Regions from separate parts of the Homo sapiens genome. Here region 1 is linked to region 2. The links are contacts of gene promoters, found by promoter capture Hi-C in human tissues and cell types (Jung and others, 2019). All regions are on one chromosome and are shown on one strand. Each heading gives the region's core, a stretch centred on a gene start or on the middle of the fragment in contact. The rest is flanking DNA. Distances are from core to core; before and after follow the strand shown.

Evidence for each region. The method cuts DNA at HindIII sites, captures the fragments that hold promoters and counts their contacts. A contact is called where the count stands out against the background at its distance.
Region 1: a contact is called between a fragment that was not itself captured here and the fragment with the promoter of GPR161 in region 2, in 2 of the 25 tissues and cell types used here (IMR-90 fibroblasts and aorta).

Annotation. Positions count from the first base shown.
Region 1 is chr1:167,756,998-167,760,992 of GRCh38, reverse strand. The region is part of intron 1 of MPZL1 (myelin protein zero like 1); the gene reads right to left. Among named protein-coding and RNA genes, the nearest start is that of MPZL1, 37 kb to the right of the region's middle. The HindIII fragment of the contact is 7,982 bases long and covers 1-3,995 here.
Region 2 is chr1:168,134,735-168,138,678 of GRCh38, reverse strand. GPR161 (G protein-coupled receptor 161) reads left to right here and starts at 1,749. Exons shown (of 6, transcript NM_001375883.1): 1 at 1,749-1,940. RefSeq lists silencers at 1,054-1,348, 1,877-2,106. The HindIII fragment of the contact is 4,691 bases long and covers 1-3,298 here.

The sequences.
Region 1 (3,995 bases), core at 649-3,148, 380 kb after region 2:
ACCTTTTTTTTTGTTTTTTAACAGTTTGGCTTTTGGAATGCCTCTCCCTCTTGATTCTCTTATCTCATTGACTGCTCCTTCCCTGGTTCTCCTGACCTCTATATGATTAAGAGCCCAGATCATTTCTCTGACTGCGTATCTATTTAACATTCCTTCTCTTGGTGACCTCACTCAGTTTCAAATGCTGATGACACCTGTACACACACACACACACACACACACACACACACACACACACACACACAGCCTATTCAACTTTGCTTGGATGTAATTGGCATCATCTCAAATTTAATATGTCCAAATTAAACTCCTGATTCCCACCCCCCAAACTTCCTTTCCATGGTCTTCTCCAAATCAGTAAATGGTAACACCAGTTTTCTAGTGGCTGAGACCAAAACCCTGGACTGTTTTGTGACTCCTCTCTTTTGCACAACTTTCCTCCAAGCTGTCAGCTACACATGTCATCTCTACTTAGAAACCTATCTAGAGGGGCCGGGTGCGGTGGCTCACGTTTGTAATCCCAGCACTTTGGGAGGCCAAAGTGGGCGGAACACCGAGGTCAGGAGATCAAGACCATCCTGGCTAACATGGTGAAACCCCGTCTCTACTAAAAATACAAAAGAATTAGCTGGTGTGGTGGCGGGCGCCTGTAGTACCAGCTAATCGGAAGGCTGAGGCAGGAGAATGGCGTGAACCCGGGAGGCGGAGCTTGCAGTGAGCTGAGATCACACCACTACACTCTGGGCGGGGTGACAGAGCGAGACTCTGTCTCAAAAAACAAAACAAAACAAAACAAAAGAAACCTATCTAGAAATTGATCTCTCTCTGCCTCATTTGGTGTCACCATCTTGGTCCAAGCCACTGTCATCTTTCACCTGGATTAAGTATTGATAGCTTCCTAATTGGTGTCTGCCTCCTTCAGCCTTCCCCACTTCACAGCAACTAGTCCACAGAGAGGCCAAAGAGATCTCATTAAAATTCAGGTTGGATCATATCACTCTTCTACTCAAAATCCTCTATGGGTTTCCCATCAGCCAGATCAGGCCAGTCCTCAAGTGGCCTACAAAGTCCTACATGAGCTAACTCCTGGCTACCTCTCGGACCTCATTGCCTACCCTGACCCCCTCAAATATGTTGCAGCAGCCACCCTGGTTACCATGTTTTTCCTCTGCCTATTGTGAGTGTACCCCAGATAGAGAATGCTATGGACAAAGAGACCAAAGGTATCCCAGGAAATCACGATGCCATGAGAGACAAGGGAAGAGTGGCCAACTGTGTCAAATGCTGAGAGCTGGGCACTCTGCGTAGTTGATTGCAGCGAGAAATTTCAGTGAAGATCCTTGCTTAAAACTGCACATGGTTTCCTTGCACACAGCATCTAAAATCCAAATTAACTTTTGCCAAGCACAGAGCCGCAGTTTCTGACCAACTACGGTGAGCACGAATGGCATCTTGTCAGAAGTGTTCTCCTGTGTGGGTAAAGAGAGAAACTAAATCACAGGTTTCCCTCTCAGGCTGTATTCTATGCAGTCCAAGCAAGGGATGAGTTCACTGGTTTCTTAAACAATTGGGAATGATTTGCTTTGTCCATTCCCCTGCCTTTTTTTAAATGACTAGGAGTATTATGGGAATACATAGTAAAATTATTGTTGAATTCAGATAGCTCATCCACAGAGTCATAAAAGAGAGTTTTTAGGGGCTAGTTAAAATGGCTAAAAATGCAAATGTAAAGACCATTGAGATATACAGAAACTATTGTTCTAATCTACATTCCATGTCACTGAAGACTAGAATCTCAATCTGAATAAGATATTAAATAGGTTTCTTTGAGGCCAAGGATTTATAATTATGGCATAGTGGCAAAAATGGCTGTGAAATGTAGTAAAGCTTTGGTTCAAAAACTTATAGATGGATTTAAAAAAGTCTGTTGATTCCTGAATAAAACCAATTGCTTTGGGAATAAAAACACAGAAATGAAATGAAATAAAATAGATTAAATGATATACAAACATTTTCATATCCTGCCAACTTTGGATTCTGAGCTCCATGTAAACTTGCATACAAACTTCAACATGGAAATGAGAGCTGAGCTTACTTTCTCTCTGGGGAACGGTTCTATAAGGAGTACCGAATCCTGCTGAGTTATGCTAGAGTTTAAAGGGCAAGAATATAAACAAATAAAATCCAAACAACCCTTCTCTTAGAGTACTCTGGAGAATAAGGTTTCTAAAATGTACCATGTTGCTCAAAGGTATCATTTAGCAATGAAGTGACACTGACCCTTAAAATAGGAAATCAATTCAAATGAAAAAAGCCCGCAAAGTCATTTGACAAGTAATCAAAAAGTCTGTGGAATCATCTGACTAGGGGTCATTTTTACAATAATCAAAGGATATTCAAAATGTAATATTCTTACAATTTGGATGGACAACCAGAACATTTCAGAAAGAAAAAAAAAAGCAAAGATAGAAAACAAAACAATATCCATCACAATCACAAAGAAAAAGGCAAATTCAAGAATGGTTCACCTAAGAGTCTATTTCCTGACATGACTGACCTATTTCAATATTCTGAATTACTGAAACAATAGAGTAAATAATGTCTCCCAACTACATGCCGAGATGATCTTACTCCAAGTAAATTCAAACTCTCATACCATAAAATAATTTGAAATACACTGTGGCAGTATTATTAGGAACAAATAAACACGTTCACAGCAGGGAACATAGGCAGGGATCTTGAAGCTGTTACTGGTTGAAGCAATTCAATGTCATGTTACTACTGGGTCCATTTATAGCATACTGGTTTGTAAAAACCTTATCTTTTTTTTTTTTTTTTGAGACAAGAATCTTGCTCTGTTGCCCAGGCTGGAGTGCAGTGGAGCGATCTCAACTCACTGCAACCTCCACCTTCTGGGTTCAAGTGATTCTCTGGCCTCAGCCTCCTGAATAGCTGGGACCACAGGGGCGTGCCACCATGCCTAGATAATTTTTCTATTTTTTTTAAGTAGAGACAGGGTTTTACCATGTTGGTCAGGCTGGTCTTGAACTCCTGACCTCAAGTGATCCACCTGCCTTGGCCTCCCAAAGTGCTGGGACTAAAGGTGTGAGCCACCTCACCCAACCTCTAAAAACCTTATCTTTTTAACACACCTTGTTAAGGTTTTCCTTGAAACTGAAAAAGGCTTTTGTTTTGAATTTTTTTAAGCACTTTGATGTTACCACTATAAACTCCTGCTTAAAAGAGTACAATCAAGCAATTTATTTAAACAGCGTTCTGACCTATCTCTTGTTCTTTGTTGGTACACAGCAAGAGTCTGATACTGTAATATCTCCTAATAAGCATAAATATGACCTTTTAAAACATACTAGAAGAGAGGAACAAAAGAGAACACTAAATACAAATTCAGGGTAGTAGTTACAACTGGGACAGGGTGGAGGAGGCAGGATGTGAAAGGTACACACTATTGGTAATGTTTTATTTCCTAGGCTGGTCATGAGTACATGGGTGCCCATTTTAATACTGATAGTGTAAACTGTACACACATACACTCTTTGGTATATATTTTACTTTTTACAATAAAAATTTTTAAAAAGACAGACACAGGAAGACATTAGTAAAGCAATAAAAGATTTACTTTTTAAGTTTCAGAATGCTCCAGTGAAAATTCCACACGATTCCCTCACAGTGTCTACTATGACTTCTACAATCAGGCTGGATAAAGTAAAGCTGACTCAATGACGTGTGCTGGTGGAGATAACACAGGCACAGAGCTGCCTTGCTGCCACTGTGGGGTCAGACTCAAATCTCTCCTGGGAACAGGGCCACCCTGCAGCTGAAGTGGGCTCTTTCCTCCCGCGAATCAGGGCTGCTATTGTGGACCTCTCTTGGCTGGATGGCACAAAGTAGGGGAAGGCTGCAAAAGTATCCTCCATTCAACAAGCCCTAAGTATTAATAAACTAAGCTTTTCATTAGTCAGGAACACACTCTTCTG
Region 2 (3,944 bases), core at 500-2,999:
CAGAAAAAAGAAAAATCTTTGTGATAAATAATGCATTTGATAATGAGCAGCAGGAGAAAAAAAGTGTTTTCTGTTGAAGAGTTCAAAATGAAATAGAGTAAGTATGGGAAAAGGTTGCTCAGTATGAAGGACATCTTTCGCATCATGGATGGGTATGGAGCCACAACAGCCGTAACTGTTTATTTTTTATTCTCATTCTCACCATGCCAGTCTGTGGCATATATTTTCAGACCTTTCGTGAATACCAATTTTCAAAAGGGTTTAGTTCTCAGATTCTATGTCACTGGATGATTTACTTACATGACCTCATTTAACCTTTTCAACTCTACAGATAGGAAAGTATGAGTATCCCCATTTTATATATGAATAAGCTGAGAGGAAGGTTAACTCACTCCCTCAGGCTCATAGAGCTTAGCCGACATCTGAGTCAGTGTAAATTAAATAAATATCAGGGATTTCAAAATAAGTGTCTAAAATACTATTAAGAACAGAAAGCTTTAAGCTCCTTCAAGTGTCTGGCTTGCCGCGTGACCTAGACTCTTAAGTGGAGCGTCAGCTTCCAGTTTTTGACCAAATAAAGCATTTATCCCATAGGAATATTAAGGCACCCATTTACTTTTTTCTCCCCATTATCCCATTTGTCCCCAGAGCAATGTGGGTGTTTGGCAGGTGCCAGACAGTAAATTACTGTTCTAAATTGTGCCTCAGTGGCCCAATAATATTAAGGAAGCATCTCCCACAGTGTCAATCTGTAGACAAGGGAATAATTAATGTATTTATCAAAGCAGATGGATTTCAGAGGAATGTGAATCCTGCTCTAAGCACAGCATCAGGGTTTGTTTTTTTTTTTCTGGAGTTTAGTGAACTGGGCTTTGTAACTTCTTACCTGATTATTTTGCTGCCCTGTTTGTCCTTCCTTCTTTCCCTTTTTAGCAGTTCTACTCTGTGCTTCAACTTTTCATCCCCTTATTAAGACTGCTGCATAGAAAACGTAGGAGTCTGGAGACAGGCAGGCAAAGTGGGGAGTGAGGAAGGGAAAACAAACATTCTGAGAAGGAACTGTTCCGTCCCCCGAGCTGACAGCGCCCGCTCTTTGTTTTGTGATGACTGCTCCCTGGCCTTTTGGTTCCGAGGGAGTGCAGGGCAGCAGTGTGAAGACCTGTTTACGTCCACTCCCCACTCCCCGGGGCTGGCTTCGGGACGAATTCACTGTGGTATTAACAGAGCCCGGGACAGAGCCTGGCAGAAGGCAGATGGATGCTCGTGCCCGTCGGCTGGATGAATGAAAGGTGAGCAGCAAAGGCGATACCAGGATCGTCCACGGCGGGACTGGAGGAGGAGAATGGGACTGTGCGGAGCCTGCGGGAAGAATCTGAAAGTGTCTGTGTGATGGAGAGAGACATGGAAAAGGCGACGTCCCAGCGGCTGGAACTGGGGCGGAGGAACGGGAACAGGGAAGGCCTGAGTTAGGCACCACAAAGGTTTTCAGGAGAAAAGTGGGGCGAGCCGAGAGGGTAAGGGCGAGACAAAGAGCAGCAGCCGAGGCTGTTCGTGGGAAGAAATGGGAAAGAAGCAGCCGGGAGGGCGGGCGGACGGACGCGAAGGAAGGGGCGCGGGTGGGGAGGGGCGCCGGGAGCTGGGCGGGGCGGGGCAGTGCGGGGCGCGGGGAGGCGGCTCGGGGCTCCGGGGGCCGGAGGGGCCCGGCCGGGCGTGGGGGGGGCGGGGCGGGGCGCGGGCGCCGCAAAGTTACTTGGCCTGCGCCCGCCCGGGTCCGCGTGCTGGTGGCTGGCCCGCGGGAGGAGCGAAGCGGGGCTCGGTGGGCTGAAACCCGAAACCTCCAGTCCCGGAGCGCGGCGGGGAGGAAGGAAGCGGCGGCGGCGGTGGCCGAGGCGGGGAGGCGGCTGGGCCGGGGCCTGAGCTGCCGCGGCGGCCGCTCCTCGGTGAGCACCCGGCGTGGGGCGCGGGCGCGGGCCCGGGCGGAGAGGGCGGTCCGGATGGAGCCAGGCTAAACTCATTGTGCGAGGCTGAGGGCTCAGGGCGCGGGCCGGGAAGGGTCCCCGCCCCCACGGCGCTCCCTTTCTCCCCGCGCCCCTCTCGGAGGTCAGGGCTGTCCTCCGCCCGCACTGCGCCTTGCTTTGGAGAGCTGGAGCTCTTTGTGGGAAGATGTTGGGGGCGCGCCCCTCCCCTGCGGCCTGGGGCTTCTGAGAGGCCCACCCCATTCTGCTGGGTGCAGCCCGCCCCGTTTCTCCGGCGCCGCCCGAAGCCCCTAAACAGTCCGCTGGATGGGAGGGCGTAGGTGCGTGCCCGGGACTCTGCCGATGCGGGCCGCGCCCCCTGGGGCCAAGAGACTCCACGTCCCGCTCAGGGCAAAGGGTGTGGGGAGAAGCGGTCACGCCCCTCGGCTGGAATCCGTGAGGACCAGGTGAGCAGCCTTCTCCCAGCCGGGACTCAGGGCGCTGTCTCCCCGAGCCTGGGCGGGCGGCGGGTGGCGCGCCCAGAAGTGGCCCGGCGCCGCCGGATGGGCGGCTCTGCCCCTCAGATCTGCGGGAGGGAGATTCGGCTGGTTCTTGGAAAGGGGAGAACTCGACCAGCCCTCGGCGCCTTCTGGGCCAAGCTTAACCCCCGTGCAACCTTTGGACAAAGGCATATGGGATGAGAACGTCTGTTGGGTAAGTGGGGTGTGTCCTGTGCTTCCCGGAGGTCTGCTCACCAGTAACCACATAGCTGCGCATTGGCATCGCTTTATATCACATCTTGGAGGCTATTTTTGCTTGTTATTGTACTTTCATCCCTTTTGCAAAGTGCTTTCATAGAGCAGGTCATTTGATCCACCTCCCGGTGAAGCCGTGAGGAGGTGTGTGGTTTTGGAGGGAAAGAACCTCAGTTCCTTGATTGTCCAATGGAGACACCGATAACCTCCGGTGAGCCTGTCTCAGCGTCCTAGGGGCTGGGGGAGGATGGCCATCCTTGTGGCTCCTCCGTGGAGCCAGGCGTGGATTCAGCCTGGCTTCTTCTCCCCTAGTGACCTGGACCTCCAGATGAGTTCTGGAGAGCTACTGCTTCGGGGAATAGGCGGTTTTCCCTTATAATCTATTTTACTGCAGCCACTGGGAGCAAGTGAAGAGAGGCATTTTTCAGGCCCTCAGGGCAGAAAGAGGAGGTGGGAGGGACCTCAGGTCATAGAGACAGAGGCTCTTCAACTGTAACTGGAATGCATGGCACCCATTTCTGTTACTTCTTTCAGAGCACCTCTCTTCCGGTCCTCCTCCACACCCGTCTTATTTTATACTTGTCAGGTGCTTACAAGCACTTTCATGTACACTTTTTCATTCACACAACAACCTTGTGAAGCTCTACTAGCCCATTTGATAGGTGAGGAAACTGAGGCTCAGGAGAGATGAAGCATTCTTGCCCAGCTAGGTAAGCAGCCCAGATTGAACTCAGATCTTTTGCCTTGGTAGTGCTTTTCACGTGGTTTCCTGATGGCACACAGGTGAGTTCTTTAACTCAGGGCTTCTCCCTGCCCTGTAGCTCCACTGCCATAACATCAAGAATAGAGACCCCTCATTAAGAGGCCCGCTTGACATTTTGGAACTAATCCAAGGCCGCAACGATATCCGAACCGTTCTCTTTGTGTTGCAGCCTGGTGCACTGTGCGTCCTCTGAGAGGTGAAGGAGCACTGTGTGGTCAGAGGGCTGCGAGCTCTCTGTTTGGGTTCCGAGGAAGACAGAATGGGCTGAACTGGAACTGACCTAAATGTCAGCAAGAGGAGGTACAGTTCTGTGGTGTAAACTCCACTGCCAGCAGGGACCAGTCAGGAAGCCTGAGTGCAGGAGGCGGGTGGACAGGAGGGCTGGGTGGGAGCTGTGTGCTGCTAAGCCTGTCTCCAGTAAGGGGGCAGCTGCAGGTGCGGTGGGGCTCCAGCACATGGTTGCCTGATCTT